2 separate regions of the Homo sapiens genome follow, and region 2 is linked to region 1. The links are contacts of gene promoters, found by promoter capture Hi-C in blood cells and fetal thymus (Javierre and others, 2016). All regions are on one chromosome and are shown on one strand. The core of a region is centred on a gene start or on the middle of the fragment in contact, and the rest is flanking DNA. Distances in the headings are between cores, read along the strand shown. Region 1 holds the start of RIPOR1 (RHO family interacting cell polarization regulator 1). Region 2 overlaps DUS2 (dihydrouridine synthase 2).

Region 1 (7,965 bases), core at 2,947-5,446:
CCTCATTAAAAAACACCATTATCCCACTATCCACCCATCACCCAGGCCCAAAGCCCCTGCCTCATCTGGGATGTCTCCCTCTCTCCAGACTCCACATCCCTTCAGTCACCAAGCTCTGCATTCTGCCTCCTGAACATCTCTTAAATGTCTCCTCTCCATCCCCACGGCCCCTACCCTGGCCCAGGCCACCATCCACTGGGCTGGAAATTGCACCAGCCTCCTTGAGGCCTCCTGCCTCCCCTCATACACACACACAGTGCCTGAGTGACGTTTGCAAAGCACAGATATGACCACAAAATCCCCCAGCCTAAAGCCCAGGCTCCCCATCACCCCAAGGGTAAAATCCTTGCTCCCCAGCCGGCCCCAAGGCCCCGCACGCAATTCTCCAGCTTTTGCTCTGGTTCAGCAAAAGAGGCTGCTCCTTTCTCCTGTGGCTTAAACTCTTGCTCCCCCAGCCTCAGCTGCTCCTTCCAGGACCTACCCACTGTCTGCCTAGGGAGCCCCAACAAAGAGCCACGCTAAGGGCCCCTTCTCTGCAAAGCCCTTCCTAACTAGCACACATGTGCACACAGACACAGTCCCACACACTCACATACACACACACCCTCAGCATTTGGGGACTTGGGAGGTGCAGAGACTTGGACATACCTGTTCTCTTTGACTGTGAGCCCTGTGGGAAGGAACTAGGGAGATCTCACCTCTGGTCACCCCAGGGTGGCCCGGGCACAGCCGACATTCCACAAATGCTTGCTGTATATCTGGCAAATGAATGAATGATGTGGCCCCAGGCACAGTCCAGGGCAAGCTTCTATTCTATCTGTTCACAGAAAGCTGGGATGGGGGTGGGGGTTGCATGGCAGAGAGTTGTCATCCGCGGGGGCTGTAGGGTGGGGTGAGGGAAGCCGCGGTTTTTCTGGGGTTTCGGACTTGAACTGCATTACTTCTGAAATGGAACTAGCAGTGCCGTGTGTGAGGACTGGGGGTTCATTGCGGCTCTCACCACCCTCTGCTGTCTGTCCCAGGGATTTTTCTCAGGCCTGAGTCCACCCCTCTGAGAATGTGATCTCCCAGTGGTTAGAAGTGCTCATAATTCCTTTCTACACACACCACAGCTACCAGCTGAGTCCCAGGCAGAGGACAGGGCTCAGGAAATGATGCCTGATTCAAACAGGGCCGAGCTGACCACGACCCAGGGAGCCAAGTTGGAGCTCAGAGTCTGCCCTTCCCAACGATGTGACAGTTTCTATGGGAAGTTCTTGCCTTCCCTGAGCTTCAGGTGTCTCCTCTTTGAAGTGGGTTTCAAGCTGTGTCCTCCCCTGTGCTTAGCTCACCAATTGTTAGGGAGAGGCTTTGAAAGCCACCAGGACCCTGTGACCCTCGGAGGGATGCTGCCCTTCCCTCGAGGCCCCTTGGATGTGGGGGAAGAGCCAGGTGAACTCCCAGGTGTTCCATTTAATCACTGCAGCGCCATCTGTGCCTGGTCTGGTGGTCACAGGCCTGGCCATGGACAAGGACAATAGGCAGTAATGGGTGCTCAGAGGACACAGGTTCCCTGGAGGAAGGGACATCTGAGCTGTTTTCCAAGTGGATGAGGGGGAGAAGCATCCTAGGCAGAAGGGAGGCTGGGAAAAAAGGCAGAGGCCAGAGGGTGGAGGCTGCATCCAGGGAGCTGCAGGCTGGGAGTGTAGTGGAAGCCAGATCACAGGGGCCGCAGAATAAGTGCAAGATAAGGAGGTGAGGTCATCTGAGGCCAGATCTCCTGGGCCTTGGAGGCCCTACCACATAGTATGGACTATCTTCTGGAGTGGGTGGGCATGGTAGGGGGAGGGAATTAATTCAAAAGATGTTAAGGAGAAAGAAGCAAGAGGACTGGGCAGCTAAAGGAAGGTGAGGGCAGGAGAGGGGGATGCCAAGGGCTCATGCATTTACACGTTCAGTTACTTGCTCATTCAACAAATATTTCTTGAACTCCCACTATGAGCCAGGCACCTTGATGATAAGGACTTCTGTGGTTCCTACCCGCACACTACTTAGAGACAACACAGTCAGGCAGGGTCAGGCCCATGAGCACACATGGTGTGCACACTGCTGCCTGGCCATGGTGAGCAGTATGAAAGGAGTCAATAGGAGGCTGGAACAGAGGGTGTCTGCAGAGAAAGTACTCAGAAGATGCCTGGCTGAGAGGTGACTTTAGGGGTGGGCAGAGGCCAATTGGTGCCAGCTTTGAGAACTCCAGAAAACCCCAGTCTCTAGCTCAGGTGGATGCCTGGGTAGACAGTGGTGCTTTGTAGGGATGGGGACAATGCTGAGGACTGGTGAGTCAACCAGAAAGCAGCCAGGGGCTCTGAAACAGGAGAGGGCTCTGGGCACAGAGGGAAGTTTGGGATGGTCAGCAGTGAATGGATGGGAGCCCTGAGACTGGATGATATTTTAGGGTAGGGTGAATAAAGAGAAGAACTCAGCCCCTGGAAGTCATGCCCAGGTTTAAGGACTTCAGAGAAAAGGGCACTGACCGGCCCAGTGGCTCATGCCTGTAATCCCAGCACTTTGAGAGGCCAAGGTGGGTGGATCGCTTGAGGCCAGGAGGTGGAGGCCAGCCTGGCCAACATGGTGAAACCCCATCTCTACCAAAAATATAAAAATTAGCCGGGACATCTCTACCAAAAATATAGAAATTAGAAGGCGGAGGTTGCAGTGAGCCGAGATCACGCCACTATACTCCAGCCTGGGCAACAGAGGGAGACTCCGTCCCCCAAAAAAAAACAAAAAAGAAAGAAAGAAAAGGGCACTACAAAGGAAGCCCAAGAGGAGGGGCTGGAGAGTGGAGAACTGTGAGGCAGAGGTGGCTCAAGCCTGTAATCCCAGTACTTTGGGAGGCCAAGGTGGGAGGATCGCTTGAGCCCAGTTAGAGACCAGTCTGAGCAACATGAAGAAAGCCCATCTCTAAAAAACCGACCAAACAGGCTGGGCGCGGTGGCTCATGCCTGTAATCCCAGCACTTTGGGAGGCCAAGGCGGGCAGATCACGAGGTCAGGAGATCGAGACCATCCTGGCTAACATGGTGAAACCCCATCTCTACCAAAAATACAAAAAATTAGCCGGGCGTGGTGTGGGCGCCTGTAGTCCCAGCTACTCGGGAGGCTGAGGCAGGAGAATGGCATGAACCTGGGAGGTGGAGCTTGCACTGCATTCCAGCCTGGGCGACAGTGACACTCTGTCTCAAAAAAAAAAAAAAAAAACCCGACCAAACAAAACCAAGCAAACAAGCAAAACACACAAAAAAACAGCCCTCAGGACTGGTGGGGGCGGGGTACAGATATTCAGGGACCTCTTACTGTCCCTGAAACCATTCCTGGGTAGGTCTGACATACATGAGGGCTGCGGGAGTGCAAGGCCTGGAGAAGCCTCAGGGGTGTCCAGGTTGGAAGGGCCAGGGGTGTCTGATTGATGGGAGGAGCGGGGGAGTGGAACTGGCCCTTTGACCCCAACATGGGGTCGACTCTCAGCCCCACCTTTACCGACTGTGTGGAGGGCCAGCATTCTAGCCCCGGCTTTGGAAAGGACTGGGTTGCCCAACACATGGCCCTGTACCCGGACCCTGCCAGCGTCCCCACCCCAAGACTGCCCGAAAACCAGTACCCAATGAGTGGGGAATGCATGACCCGGCTATGAGCCTGGACTTACCAGCCAGACAGTGGCAGAAAGGGCGGCCTGCCTCTACAGCGACGCTGAGGCTGGCTGAAATGGCAGGGCTGAAGGGCAGCGTCTGGACCCAGAAGGTGCCAGGCGGCTTCTGGACTCCCCAAGGCCTTCACAACAGCCCTGGATCCTTTCCACCAACCAGCCTAAGCCAGCAGTAGCAGCTCCAGGACCTGTTTCAGGTGGTCACGGACAGGGGGCCCGCAAGGTCTCCAGAGCCCGAGGGATCTGGGGAGGGGACAAGCAGGCGGGGCTCCCTGGCGCTCACCGTTTTAGGGTCTGCGTGAGAAAGCCTCCCTCACATCCCCCAGGGTCTGCCCTCCCTGCAAGCTGGTGGGCTGCGTGGGCCACCGGCCTGCCCCGTTATCCGAGAGGGCGGAGCGAGCCGTGGGCGCCTCTAGGGGTGCGGGAGCCGCGGGAGCGCAGGGGGTGGGGCCCGGCGGGCCAGGGGAGGGGCGGCGGGGCGGCGGGCGGAGGGAGGGGCCGGCGCCTGCGGCGGCGACAGCGGCAGCTGCGGCGCGACCAGGCCGGGCACCTCCGAGCGCAAGGACAGCGCGAGGTCCGCGCAGCCCAGCGCAGCCATGTGAGTGTCCCGCGCCGTTTCCGGGGCTGCAGGCCGGGCGGGGAGCAGGCGCGGAGGTTCTGGTGCCCCCCCGCCGGCGCCGCCCGGTGGGTCCGGGATCTGCGGCTCTGTCCCGCCTCACCCCATCTCCCGGACCCCGGCCGCGCCTTGTCTTTCCTCCCCTCCCCCCGGGCGTGGAGAACGCAGCTTCTCCCACAAAAGCCGCCGCCTCCGGGCCTGCAGAGCCTGGCGCTGCTGCCTTCCTCCCACGGCAAGGCCCTGGCGGCCGGTGCCCCGGGGCGCTGGGATGGGCCAGGCCAGAGAGCGGGCTCAAGGCGCCAGCCTGGGCCCTGGCACGCGCGCTCCCTGGGAGCCCTTGCTGCCTTCGCCGCAGGGGAGGCTGGGCTGGAAATGGGGAGGGGGCGACGAAGGGTGCGGGCCGGCCTAGGAGCTGAGCTAATCCTCCTAGCTCTAGGGGCCGGCCTAAGCGGCTTTGTGGCCGGCCCCGAGGTGACCGAGCCTGGGCTGGAGCCGGGCTCTCCGCCCAAACCTGGCGTAGCCGAAGCCGGAGAGGATCGTCCTTGTCGGGGAACGGAGCTTTTCCCTGGAAATGGAGGTTGGCGCAAGGTTCCTGCAACAGCCGGGCCTGGGCTCTCTGCAGAACTGGTTTGGGCAAGGGGCTGCTCACCAGGGCTAGAGGTCGGATTCAGTCCAGATTCAGCACCCTTTGTCCTCCTCTCCAGGGTGAGCCCTGAGTCCGGCCTCCCCTACAGACCCTCCCCAGCCAGTTCTAACGTGTGTCCAGGCTGGCCGCCCCAGCACCTACTGTGCGCAGCCTCGTGTAACAATACTTGTGCCCTGGCTGCAGTCTGCGGGGCCGCGCCCTGGGCCTGCCGCATTCGGCCAACGCACAGCATCTGAGGAGGGTTATGACCATCTGGCAGATGCAGAAACAGGCCCAGAGAGGTTAGTAGTATTCTCAAGGTCACACAGCTGGTTTGGGAGAAGCGAGGATTAGATCTGAGTCCTTGCCCCTGCGACACCCACCTCCGTGGTATTGGAGGGAGGAGAGGAATGATAATTGGGGGCTGAGGTACAAAATACTCCAGCGGGACAAGGAGGACTGGCATAGCTCCTTCTTCCACCGCCCTCTCCGGCTTGGGTCCTGTGACTGCGGCGGGAGAGAGGAGCAAGGTGAGCCGCCCCAGGGGTCTGGGTTTGGGTGCGGGTGAGGGGAGGACTCAGGACTCTGGGCTGGGTCCCGCTTGAGAGAAGCGGGCGGGGAGGGCGCGGGTGAGTCACGGCGGCCCCTCTGCGTCGCCGCTCGGACTCAGCCCTGGCCAGGCCCGGCCCGGGGGAGGCCGCCTGGCTCCCAGCGCGCGGCCAGGGAATGTAACCAGCTGACCAGGGAGGGGGCCGGCAGGAAGTGAGGCCACCCGACAGCCTCCGCCCGGTTCCGGGGTGGGGGGTCCGGGGCTGTGCCGCTCCCCCTCCCTCCTATACGCTTGGGCAGCTGCGAGATGACGTCAGCCGCCGGGTTTGGGGGCAGTTGCCATGGAGACAAGGACAGGCTCAGAAGGGACCCCCTTCTCCCTTGCAGCCGCCCCTTGCCCAGGTTATTTTTAGCCTCTGTTTACCTCGGTCGGGGCGGCCCCGGGGTGGGGCGGGGCTAGACCCGGGGACTCCCAGAGAGGCAGCTGGCCTGGCACAGTGCTGAGATGGGCAGCCCAGGTGGTGGGATATTCCGCCGCACCCGGGTGTGCCAGTCTTGGTGTGTAGGAAGTATAGCGGGGCTGCAAGATCTGGGGCCATGCGGACAGGTCAGGGCTCCTCCACTCACGGCCATCCTGACCTGGCTGTGCTGCAAGCCCCATAACCTTTGGAACCTTGGATCTGGGTTATTTCCCATCCTGGGAACAGACTATAGGGCTGACATGAGCCCAGAGAGTCCCCTGGTTCTTATCAGCCAGTCCCCCACCAGTTGAGGTGGCCCTTCTGCCTTAGCTCAAGGGGTTCAGCTCTTTCCCTACCTGCTCTCACCCAGCAAGGGCAATCTTGCCCGCCCATCTCCCGAAGCGGTCACTCAGATGGACATTATGATGGTCATTTGTACCAACAGTTAGACATCCTAGTTCCTATGGGACTCGGGGGATGGTGGCAGCAGAGGGCCAACCAGAGAGAGAAAAGTGATGGAACAGTCAGCGGTTTCCAAGTCCAGAATCCCAGGGGATCCCCACCCTGCACCATCCCAGGGAGCAGAGCCCCACTTGCTGATGGTATACGATACCATCAGCCAGTGGGAAGGGAGAGGGAGGATTGCATGTCGGGTAGGGGAGTTGGGGTGGACATAGACTTAAAATCCTCCCCACCAACAAACAGCTCAGGACCTGCTGTTCCTGTGTCTAGGCAGCCCAGCTTCCCCCACTGTTCCCCCCCTTCATCTCCCAGGTGCTACAGGACCCCCAGAGCGCTGTGGTGAGCCAAGCAGATATGCCCCAGGTCTCACAAGGTTCAGTCTGGTGGGAAGACAGGCCCTAAAGGAGAACTGACAACTGGGTTATGTGGTCTCGGGGTTCAGAGGGAGGAAGTCAAAAAGGGGGAACCAACCCAGGGCCTGCTTCCTGGAGGAAGAAGTCATAGGGTAGACTTGAGGAAGGAGAGGGACTTGGGGCTGAGTAGTGGGAAGAAGGAATAGGAGCGATGGGGGCTGCCGGTCAGATTCTGAAGAACCTTGCAGGTATTGAGAGAGGGTCTCAGTTGCTGGAACAGAGAAAGCAGGGGACTGGGAGGAGAGGAGTGGTTGAAAGAATGTGAGGGACAGGACAAATCCTGAAGGGCCTACGTGGGTCATGTTAGAGAGTCTGGGCTTTCTCCCTGGGACAAGAGTGGCTGTGGCTATTTCACATCAGTCTGAATAGAGTGATATTAAAGATTTAGAGTCCTGGGGTCAGACAGCCTGGGTTTGAATCATGGTCTTGACACTTACCACCTGTGTGACTGTTTTGTTTTGTTTTTTGAGACAGAGTCTCGCTCTGTCGCCCAGGCTGGAGTGTAGTGGTGAGATCTTGGCTCACTGCAAGCTCCACCTCCCGGGCTCATGCCATTCTCCCACCTCAGCCTACTGAGTAGCTGGGACTACAGGCGCCAGCCACCACGCCCAGCTAATTTTTTTTTTTTTTGTATATTTAGTAGATATGGGGTTTCACCGTGTTAGCCAGGATGGTCTTGATCTCCTGACCTCATGATCCGCCCTCCTCAGCCTCCCAAAGTGCTGGGATTACAGGCGTGAGCCACCGCACCCGGCCGTGTGACTGTTAAAAATAATAGCAGTTAGTATTTGTTGTGTGTTCACAGTTAGATGTTAGCTAGGCATGGTGGTGCATGCCTGTGGTTCCAGCTACTTAAGAGGCTAAGGCAGTAAGATTGCTTGAGCCCAGGAGTTCAAGGCTGCAGTGAGCTATGAACGCACCACTGCACTGAAACTGATCGCTTGAGCCCAGGAGTTCAAGGCTGCAGTGAGCTATGAACACACCACTGCACTGAGACCTGGGTGACAGCGTGAGACCTCGTCTTAAAAAAAAAAAAATTAGGTATAGTGAGTCCACCTCAACGTCCCTACCCCACATACAATTCTCCCTTCCCCAAACACTTCCTATAGAGGGACATCCTCATGAGAGGAGATCTCATTTCATCCTCCCAGCAGC
Region 2 (7,965 bases), core at 3,863-6,362, 540 kb after region 1:
TCTCGGCTCACTGCAACCTTCGCCTCCTGGGTTCAAGCAATTCTCCTGCCTCAGCCTCCTGAGTAGCTGGGATTACAGGTGCCTGCCACCATGCCTGGCTTTTTTTTTTTTTTTTTTTGTATTTTTAGTAGAGATGGGGTTTCACCATGTTGGCCAGGCTGGTCTCAAACTCCTAACCTCAAATAATCCACCCACCTTGGCTTCCCAAAGTGCAGGGATTACAGGCGTGAGCCACCATGCCAAGCCAGTATTCTCTTAATAAAGGAAGCTATTATTTTTTACCCGTAGTTGGGAACACTCGGAAGACAGATGTGGGTGAGTTTGAAGAAGCCCTTTGTGACCATCAAAGCTGGTGAGATGGGCTAAAAGTGACCATTGGAGATGTAGGGAGACAGAGGTAGAGGCTAGGTTGACAGGGCCCTCGACCCTTTTGTTGAAGAGTATAGTAGAGGGGCCCGGGCGCGGTGGCTAACGCCTAGAATCCCACCACTTTAGGAGGCCGAGGCGGGTGGATCACATGAGGTCAGGAGTTCAAGACCAGCCTGACCAACATGGTAAAACCCTGTTTCTACTAAAAAAAATACAAAATTAGCTAGGCATGGTAGCTCATGCCTGTAATCCCAGCTACCTGGGAGGCTGAGGTAGAATTGCCTGAACCCAGGAGGTGGAGGTTGCAGTGAGCCGAGATTGCACCATTGCACTCCAGCCTGGGCAACAAGAATGAAACACCATATCAAAAATAAAAGAACAAGAGTATAGCAGAGGGGACATACTCAGACAAGAGCTGGACAAGGGCTATCTGGTCGACCGTCTTGCTTGCTTTGTTGCTGAGCACAGCTCAGGTCAGGCCTCACGTCAGCAGCCCTAAAACTCATGCACAAGAACTTGCAGTTGACTTTGGAAGGAGGGGCCCCAGGTTGTGGTCCTGCCTCCCTTGTGCCGTGGTGTGGCAGCCATGGTCCGTGCCTTTCCTGGGTGCGGGGCCTACCCTGTGTCAGGTGCCTCTCCCTAGGATCAGCTGTGCAACTTGGCTTTGGCATTGGCAGCTGTGTGGGAGTGGCCAGTCTGAGCAGCAGCAGCTGTTCCCAGTCCCTTGGAGAGGGCAGGACTGGGACAGTAGGGGCAGCACTCTTATGGCCCTGTCCCTCATCTCTGGCAGAGGCAAAAGGAAGCTAGGGAAAAGCAACATGACCTTGGGAGCCAGGCCACCCACCATGCCCCCCTGCAGCCAGGCCTCCCCTGCAGGCCTCCAAGAGCTGGACTTGCCGTCTCAGCATGGATCTGTGCTGCCCCTGCCCCTCACAGTTCTCCAGAGGGCAGGGAGAGCCATTTCCTGCCACCTGTCCTTGATTGCCATATGGCCACCTGACCTTCCTGAGGTTCAGTGGGGAGGACAGTAAGGTTTGGCTGAGGTAACCCTGTGTGAGTGGTGTCGTGGCTTTTGGTGCTTAGCCCTCAGCCCCATCTTTCTATCTCCAAGGAAGCGGGAGGAGCGACCTCAGCATCCTGTCAGCTGTGAAGTCATCAAAGCCATTGCTGATACCCTCTCCATTCCTGTCATAGCCAAGTAAGCCTCCTGTCTTCATCATGTACTCTGTGTCCCACAGAGCTAAGGGCTGGGTGGTAGCCAGGCCCAGCCTTCCCTAGAGTGAAAAGTTTTAGGGGTGGCTTGAAAAGGGCAGGGCTTTCCACAAGACCCCAGACCTGTTCCTTCTGCTGCCACCTGAGACCCTCCCCTCTGCATGCCTGTCTCAGGACTGAGGCTGCCGACTGACTCCTGATGAAATGTACAGAGACAGAGCAGGGGGTCCTTGGAGCAGCAGGCTGCAGGGAGGGGAAAGTATGACCTAACTGGGCCTCCTTCCTTCCTCTTGTCATCACTAGGGTGTCTGTTCCTCTCGCCAGGGTTTTGACTTAGCCCTCAGTGAACATATAAGTGGCCCATTCAGCTTGGGGGTTTTCCTGTAGCCCCAGTAGCCCAGTTATGGACCCATGTCTCCAGATGTGGGCTGGCTGTAGCCACTGTTTTAGATTAGGGGCAAGGAAAGTAAATTTCCTGGATTACCTATTAAGTGCCAGGCACTCTACATGTATTATCTCAGTTAGTGCTCCTAACTTCATAATGGGATATGGATTCTAATATCCACTTTACTGAAGCTCTGATAGCTGAAGGGACTTGGCCAAATTCACATTGTTAATCAGTGGCAGATCTGAGAGCTGACTTTTTCTGAAAATGCTGATAGGTTCCGTGATGGGGACACCCCTAACCCTCTGGTTGCTTTTTAGCGGAGGATCTCATGACCACATCCAACAGTATTCGGACATAGAGGACTTTCGACAAGCCACGGCAGCCTCTTCCGTGATGGTGGCCCGAGCAGCCATGTGGAACCCATCTATCTTCCTCAAGGAGGGTCTGCGGCCCCTGGAGGAGGTCATGCAGAAATACATCAGATACGTACGTCTCTGTACTTTTTCAAAACAAGCATTTCTCACTGTCTACCACACTCCTGCAGAGAGCACTTTGTGTGAGCCCCCAGCTGCCAGCTGTGCTTGCTGTTCCTCTCCTTTTCTTTTTAGCTCATGTAGTGTAGCTGCACTAGCTCACTGCTTTATTCGGTCTCCCCAGCTGCAATGCTAAGAGAGGATGCTGGGGGGCATACCCCTACCATCTCCTAAAGCTTCCAGAGGTTTGCAGGTCATAGCAAGAACCTTCTAGATCCAGGATGCTGTTGGAACCCCGAACACATGATATATATCTTTCTTTTTCTCACACGCTGCACATACAGAGGCATATGCACGTGGACTGTGGGTTCTGCATCATCAAAGGCATATGTGCCTATAGGTTGGCTCAGGAGCAGCCACAGCCAAGAGGAGCAATTGAGAAATTTCTCACCTGATTTGACTCATCAGTCGAAATAATTTCTAAAACTTTTCTCTTGCTAATTCCAGAATGCTTTAAGCATAACCCTCTACTTAGGGAATAGCTTTTTTTTTTTTTTTTTGAGATGGGGTCTTGCTCTGTTGCCCAGGTGTGAGCATAGTGGCATAATCATGACTCACTGCAGTCTTGACCTCCTGGGCTCAAGTGATCCTCCTGCTTCAGCCTCCCAAGTAGTTGGGACTACAGGCATGTGCCACAACACTCAGCTAATTTTTTATTTTTTTAATAGAGATGAGGTCTCCCTATGTTGCCCAGGCTGGGAATGGCCTTTTCTAAACCAGTTTCTTCTCATTGAGAGGTTGATGGTAGTGCCAAGGGCATATCCCTATAAAAGAAAATGAAGAGTTCACTTGCCTTATCTCTTTGGCACAACCCTGGAACTCTGTGGGACTCTGATCAGCTGCACATGTCTGCAGGGAGAGACAGTGAGTGGTCCTCAAATTCTTCAGTGAATTGGGTCTGAACAGAGGGTGCAGTCTTTGCCCAGAGCAGAGTTCCACCCTCCTCTTCAGTCCTAGGGTTCATACCTGCCTAGGAGTGCCTGTGGCTGCCATGGTATGTGAGTGTTTCCATGGCTGTGCAAGCTAGGATGGTAAGATGCCCTGAGGTCTGCGTCCAGAGCTGGGCAGCCTTTGTCCTATTTCCTGTTCAATGCTGCAGCCCTCACTCCCTGGTTCTGGTGTCCTGCTGGGCAAGTTGGTGACCACCAGCTCTCCAATGGTCTGGGATAGCTCCATGGCAAGGGAGGGCTTGCCCCAGCCCAGGTCAGCTATCCAGCTTTTTGGCCAGCTGGCAAGTCTGGCCAAGAAGACGTGCTGAACAGTGCTGAGCTTGCTCACTGGGTGAAAGGTGATATTATCATTCCTGCTGAGCCATCTCTTGGCAGCTCCTCAAGAGGGTGTGCTATCACAGAGAAAGGGAGCGGCTTTCAAGCATAGGCAGGGCTGCTTCTGGTCCAGCCAGGTGCCTTCTTCCCAGACAAGCTGAGTCAAGGACTTGCCACCAGCCGGGGCGCCCCGACTTACTTCCCACTTTGTCCTGAGCGTGCCGTGGCACTTTCCCAGCCACTGAAGTCATAGGCCCACGTGGAGTTACTAGAGCAGCATAGGGGGTGGGGGATGGGAGGGTGTCCTGGAGGGCTGGGGAAGGCCACCTTCACCCAATACTGCTCTCCTGCCCTACCTCTAGCCAGCCGACTTCCACTGGGTGTCCCAGGCAGTCAGTCATCTTGCCTCCCTGAGCCTTCATTTCACGGTCTGTGGAGTGATGGTGACAGTTGCACCTCACACTTGTATAGATAAATGTAGTCATGAGTAACCCATGTGAACTAAATGATGCTGTGTTTTACCCACGTAGGGGGAAGTTAGAGGCTATTCAAGATGTGGGAAGGGAAGGTGCCCATTCTGGTTAGAAGGAATAGAAGAATCTCACCCCTTTCCTGGCACTGGACCTGCCATGCCAGAATTTGGTGTGTTTCCCCTCCCTTCCCTGGAAGATACTTGGCAGTAGGTCCTCTGTGGTGGCTGAAGCAGGAAGGGGCTCCCGCACTTCGAGACCTCAGTCAGGCTGTCCAGGAGAATGTGTTTCTGACCGTGGTCCTTGGCTGTGACCCTCAAGCTTTGTACCACTAGCTGGAAGAGTAGATGACCAAGGTCGAAGTGGCTTTTTAATTTATTTTTATTTTTATTTTTAATTTTAGATAGGGTCTCAGTCTGTTGCCCAGGCTGGAGTGCAGTGGCATGATCATAGCTCACTACAGCCACAACTCCTGGGTGCAAGCAATCCTCTTGCCTTAGCCTCCCTAGTAGCTATGGCTACAGGTGTGTGCCAACATGCCTGGCTAATTTTCTTTTTCTTTTTTTTTTTTTTTTTGAGACAGAGTTTTGCTGTTGTCGCCCAGGCTGGAGTGCAGTGGCACGATCTTGGCTCACCGCAACCTTCGCCTCCAGGGTTCAAGCGATTCTCTTGCCTCAGCCTCCCGAGTAGCTGGGATTACAGGCACCCGCCACCACGCCCAGCTAATTTTGTATTTTTAGTAGAGACGGGGCTTCACCATGTTGGTCAGGCTGGTCTTGAACTCCTGACCTCAGGTGATCCGCCCGCCTTGGCCTCCCAAGGTGCTGTGATTACAGGCGTGAGCCACCGTGCCCAGCCGATAATTTTCTTTTTTTTAATTTTTGTAGAGTTGAGTCTTACGTTGCCCAGGCTGCTCTTGAACTCCTAGCCTCAAGCAGTCCTCCTGCATTGGCCTCTCAGAGTGCTGGGATTACAGATGTGAGCCACTGCTCCTGGCCAGTGGTGGTTCTTCTTATGGGGGTCACATTGCCTTGGCTACACATACATCTCTGGTGCCTTCTTGGAGCTCCTTTCCCTGCCATCAGAGCATAGCCCAGGCCTTAGAGCCTGCCTGGGCATCAGGCAAGTCATTTCTTTTCTCAGGCGGTGCAGTATGACAACCACTACACCAACACCAAGTACTGCTTGTGCCAGATGCTACGAGAACAGCTGGAGTCGCCCCAGGGAAGGTTGCTCCATGCTGCCCAGTCTTCCCGGGAAATTTGGTAAGAGGCACAATAAGATGTCCATCTGTCCTTGTACGCATTGCCCAAGTTTGACTTTGAGCCCTAAGCTGACTCCACCAGGGGACCAGGGACACAGCTTCTGGATGTAGATGTAGAGGAGTGGAGTGATGGTACAGCTTTGCCTCCCAGGAGGGGATTCTTTGAAAGCTTTGAAACGTCCCATCCCTGGACGGATCAGCAGAGCTCTGGGAACTAGGGTACTAGAAGGATAGAGGAATGCAAAGGAAGGGGATTTTCCATAAATGGGATAGTCACAGGCCAGGCCCCCAGGAACCAGTGGTCAGGAGAATTGGGCTGTAGCATGGAGCCTCTACCTTGAGCCTGCACTCACATCCATCACCCTGCAGTTTGAGAGACCACCTGTTGATTCTCTAGATCAGGTGCAGCTCTAGCTCAGATGGTTGACAGTTGAGGCCCTTCACAAGCTGGCCTAGCCACTGCCCCCACAGCTCCCTGTCTACCTGTCTGCTTCCAGAACTCCACACCTGTGCTTGTAATGGGTCGTCTGCCTGGAAGGCTCTCTCCCTCTCACGTGAGCTATCTGTAGCCTCCCTCTTACATAGATGCCTTTCTGAACCACTTTTGCCATTGGGGATCTATCTTCGTTTGAGTCTTCCAGCCTTCAAGATGTTTCCTAGAAGGGAAAAACCTTTGCCAGAGCCCTCTTCCCACCCTTGGCTTATGGCATTGGTTCAGTCCCTACCCCACATAACTCTGTAGCTCTGGGTGGTGCCTCAGTGTCAGCTGAGACCCATGTATAACTGCCTGTGGCTGGGCGGGAAGTGGGGAACCACTTAGTGGTCAGGCCTCTGTCTCTTCCTCCCATGGGCCCATGTGCTTGATCAGCATTGGTTAACTCAGTCACGGCTGGCTGGGGATACCATCTGTGTGCTTCCCCTCAGGAGAGAGGCTGCAGGTGGTGGGGGTGACCTTTACAACCTTTGCCACCCAGCCCAGCCTCCCTCCAGTGTCCACGCTTGGGTTCACATTCACTTTCCATCTTCCAGTCCACAGTAATCCCAGGGCTGGGCAGGGGGCACATTCTGATGGCCAGGCCCCGGTGGTGTTTTGGTGTATGTGGTAGAGGAGTTTCTCAGTGGTGGGGCCCTGGGGTCCTGCAGTACCCTGGATGCTGGCTCCGCTAAAGTGTTTGCTCTGATCTGCTTCTTCCTCCCTAGTGAGGCCTTTGGCCTTGGTGCCTTCTATGAGGAGACCACACAGGAGCTGGATGCCCAGCAGGCCAGGCTCTCAGCCAAGACTTCAGAGCAGACAGGGGAGCCAGCTGAAGATACCTCTGGTGTCATTAAGATGGCTGTCAAGTTTGACCGGTAGGTCTCCAGCTTGGCCTCAGCTTGGGCTAGGGCCAGCACCCTTGGGGTCCCACTGGGCCAGCACACTGGCTGCTGTATGTGCTTAATGTCAAACGTAGGGACCACAGGTCTTGTTGGTTTGGAAACTCGTTCTAAATTTTCAGCATCCCATAGAAGGTGCTTTCAGGGGAGATAGTCCCTGAAAGGCTGTCCCAAGGATAACTGAACTCTACTTTTTCCCTGATTTACCGCCTCCCACAACTCAGGGCAGGGGGGACTTGTCTCCTGTTCCTGAAAGTCTGTGCTTTTCCAAGGCCCTGAGGAACTGGCTCCTGGCATGAAGCTCCTCAAACAACAGCAGGACCCTAGCCCTCATTTGGCTCTGCAGCCCCTACCCACACCCAGTGCCCCTCACCAGCTCTGTGGTGCTCTCTCAAGCTGCTTACGCCTCAGATTGTGACTCAGCTTTGAATGGTGCCCTCCTCTGGGATCTGAGCCTTTCTCCAGTCCCCAGGACCAGACAGGAGCCAGTCTTGTCTGGCAGAGGTGTGGAGAGGGGGAGCAGGGTGGTGGGGAATAGCTGTTGGGCAGTCAGATGCCAGGGAGAGTTCCAGTTGGGAAGTTGGAATATGACCCCTCCCACCCTGTCACTGTGTCACCCTGTCACAGGCTGACTCTGAAACCAGATTCCAAGTGTCCATGGCTGCAGCAGATGATCATGACACTTGGCAGGCGGAATCAGGATGGGCGCTGAGCTAGATCCCCGAGACCATTGTCTGGCTACCTCCATTGCCCACCTCCACCCACTCCCTACTAATCTTGTCTTGAGTGGCAAGCTTCCTTCTTGGATGTTGAACATTGTTTTTCCAGTCTGGACCTCAGAGTACTGGGAGTTCATTCCCCCTTCCCTTACAATTTCTTGAGCATGCCAAAATTCATCTTCCCTTTAGGGAGAACCCAGGTCCAAGCTGCTGGTAGGACAAGAATGGGAGCCTAGGGGAGCAAGTACAGAAGCCTTAAGGCAGCAGCTCGGTGTCTCAGTTCCTCTCATTTCTGCAGCTCCTTTCAGGAGCTGAGTAGTGCCCTGGCTGAGGGAGGGAGCGGTGATGGTGGGTGACCCCAACTGCTTCCC

What was found. Contacts are between HindIII fragments. The CHiCAGO score rates a contact against its expected background, and 5 or more counts as called.
Region 2: a contact is called between a fragment that was not itself captured here and the fragment with the promoter of RIPOR1 in region 1, in 2 of 17 cell types (naive B cells and erythroblasts). The highest score is 5.3, in naive B cells.

Annotation. Positions count from the first base shown.
Region 1 is chr16:67,524,633-67,532,597 of GRCh38, forward strand. It overlaps RIPOR1 (RHO family interacting cell polarization regulator 1), which reads left to right and starts at 4,197. Exons shown (of 22, transcript NM_024519.4): 1 at 4,197-4,282. It overlaps LOC100505942 (a long non-coding RNA gene), which reads right to left and starts at 4,113. Exons shown (of 2, transcript NR_104656.1): 1 at 3,685-4,113. RefSeq lists silencers at 4,154-4,263, 4,294-4,523, 5,524-5,803. The HindIII fragment of the contact is 8,124 bases long and covers 804-7,965 here.
Region 2 is chr16:68,068,654-68,076,618 of GRCh38, forward strand. DUS2 (dihydrouridine synthase 2) reads left to right here. Exons shown (of 17, transcript NM_017803.5): 11 at 1,481-1,567; 12 at 2,287-2,455; 13 at 5,381-5,502; 14 at 6,702-6,851. Among named protein-coding and RNA genes, the nearest start is that of NFATC3, 13 kb to the right of the region's middle. RefSeq lists an enhancer at 6,669-6,778. The HindIII fragment of the contact is 1,112 bases long and covers 4,557-5,668 here.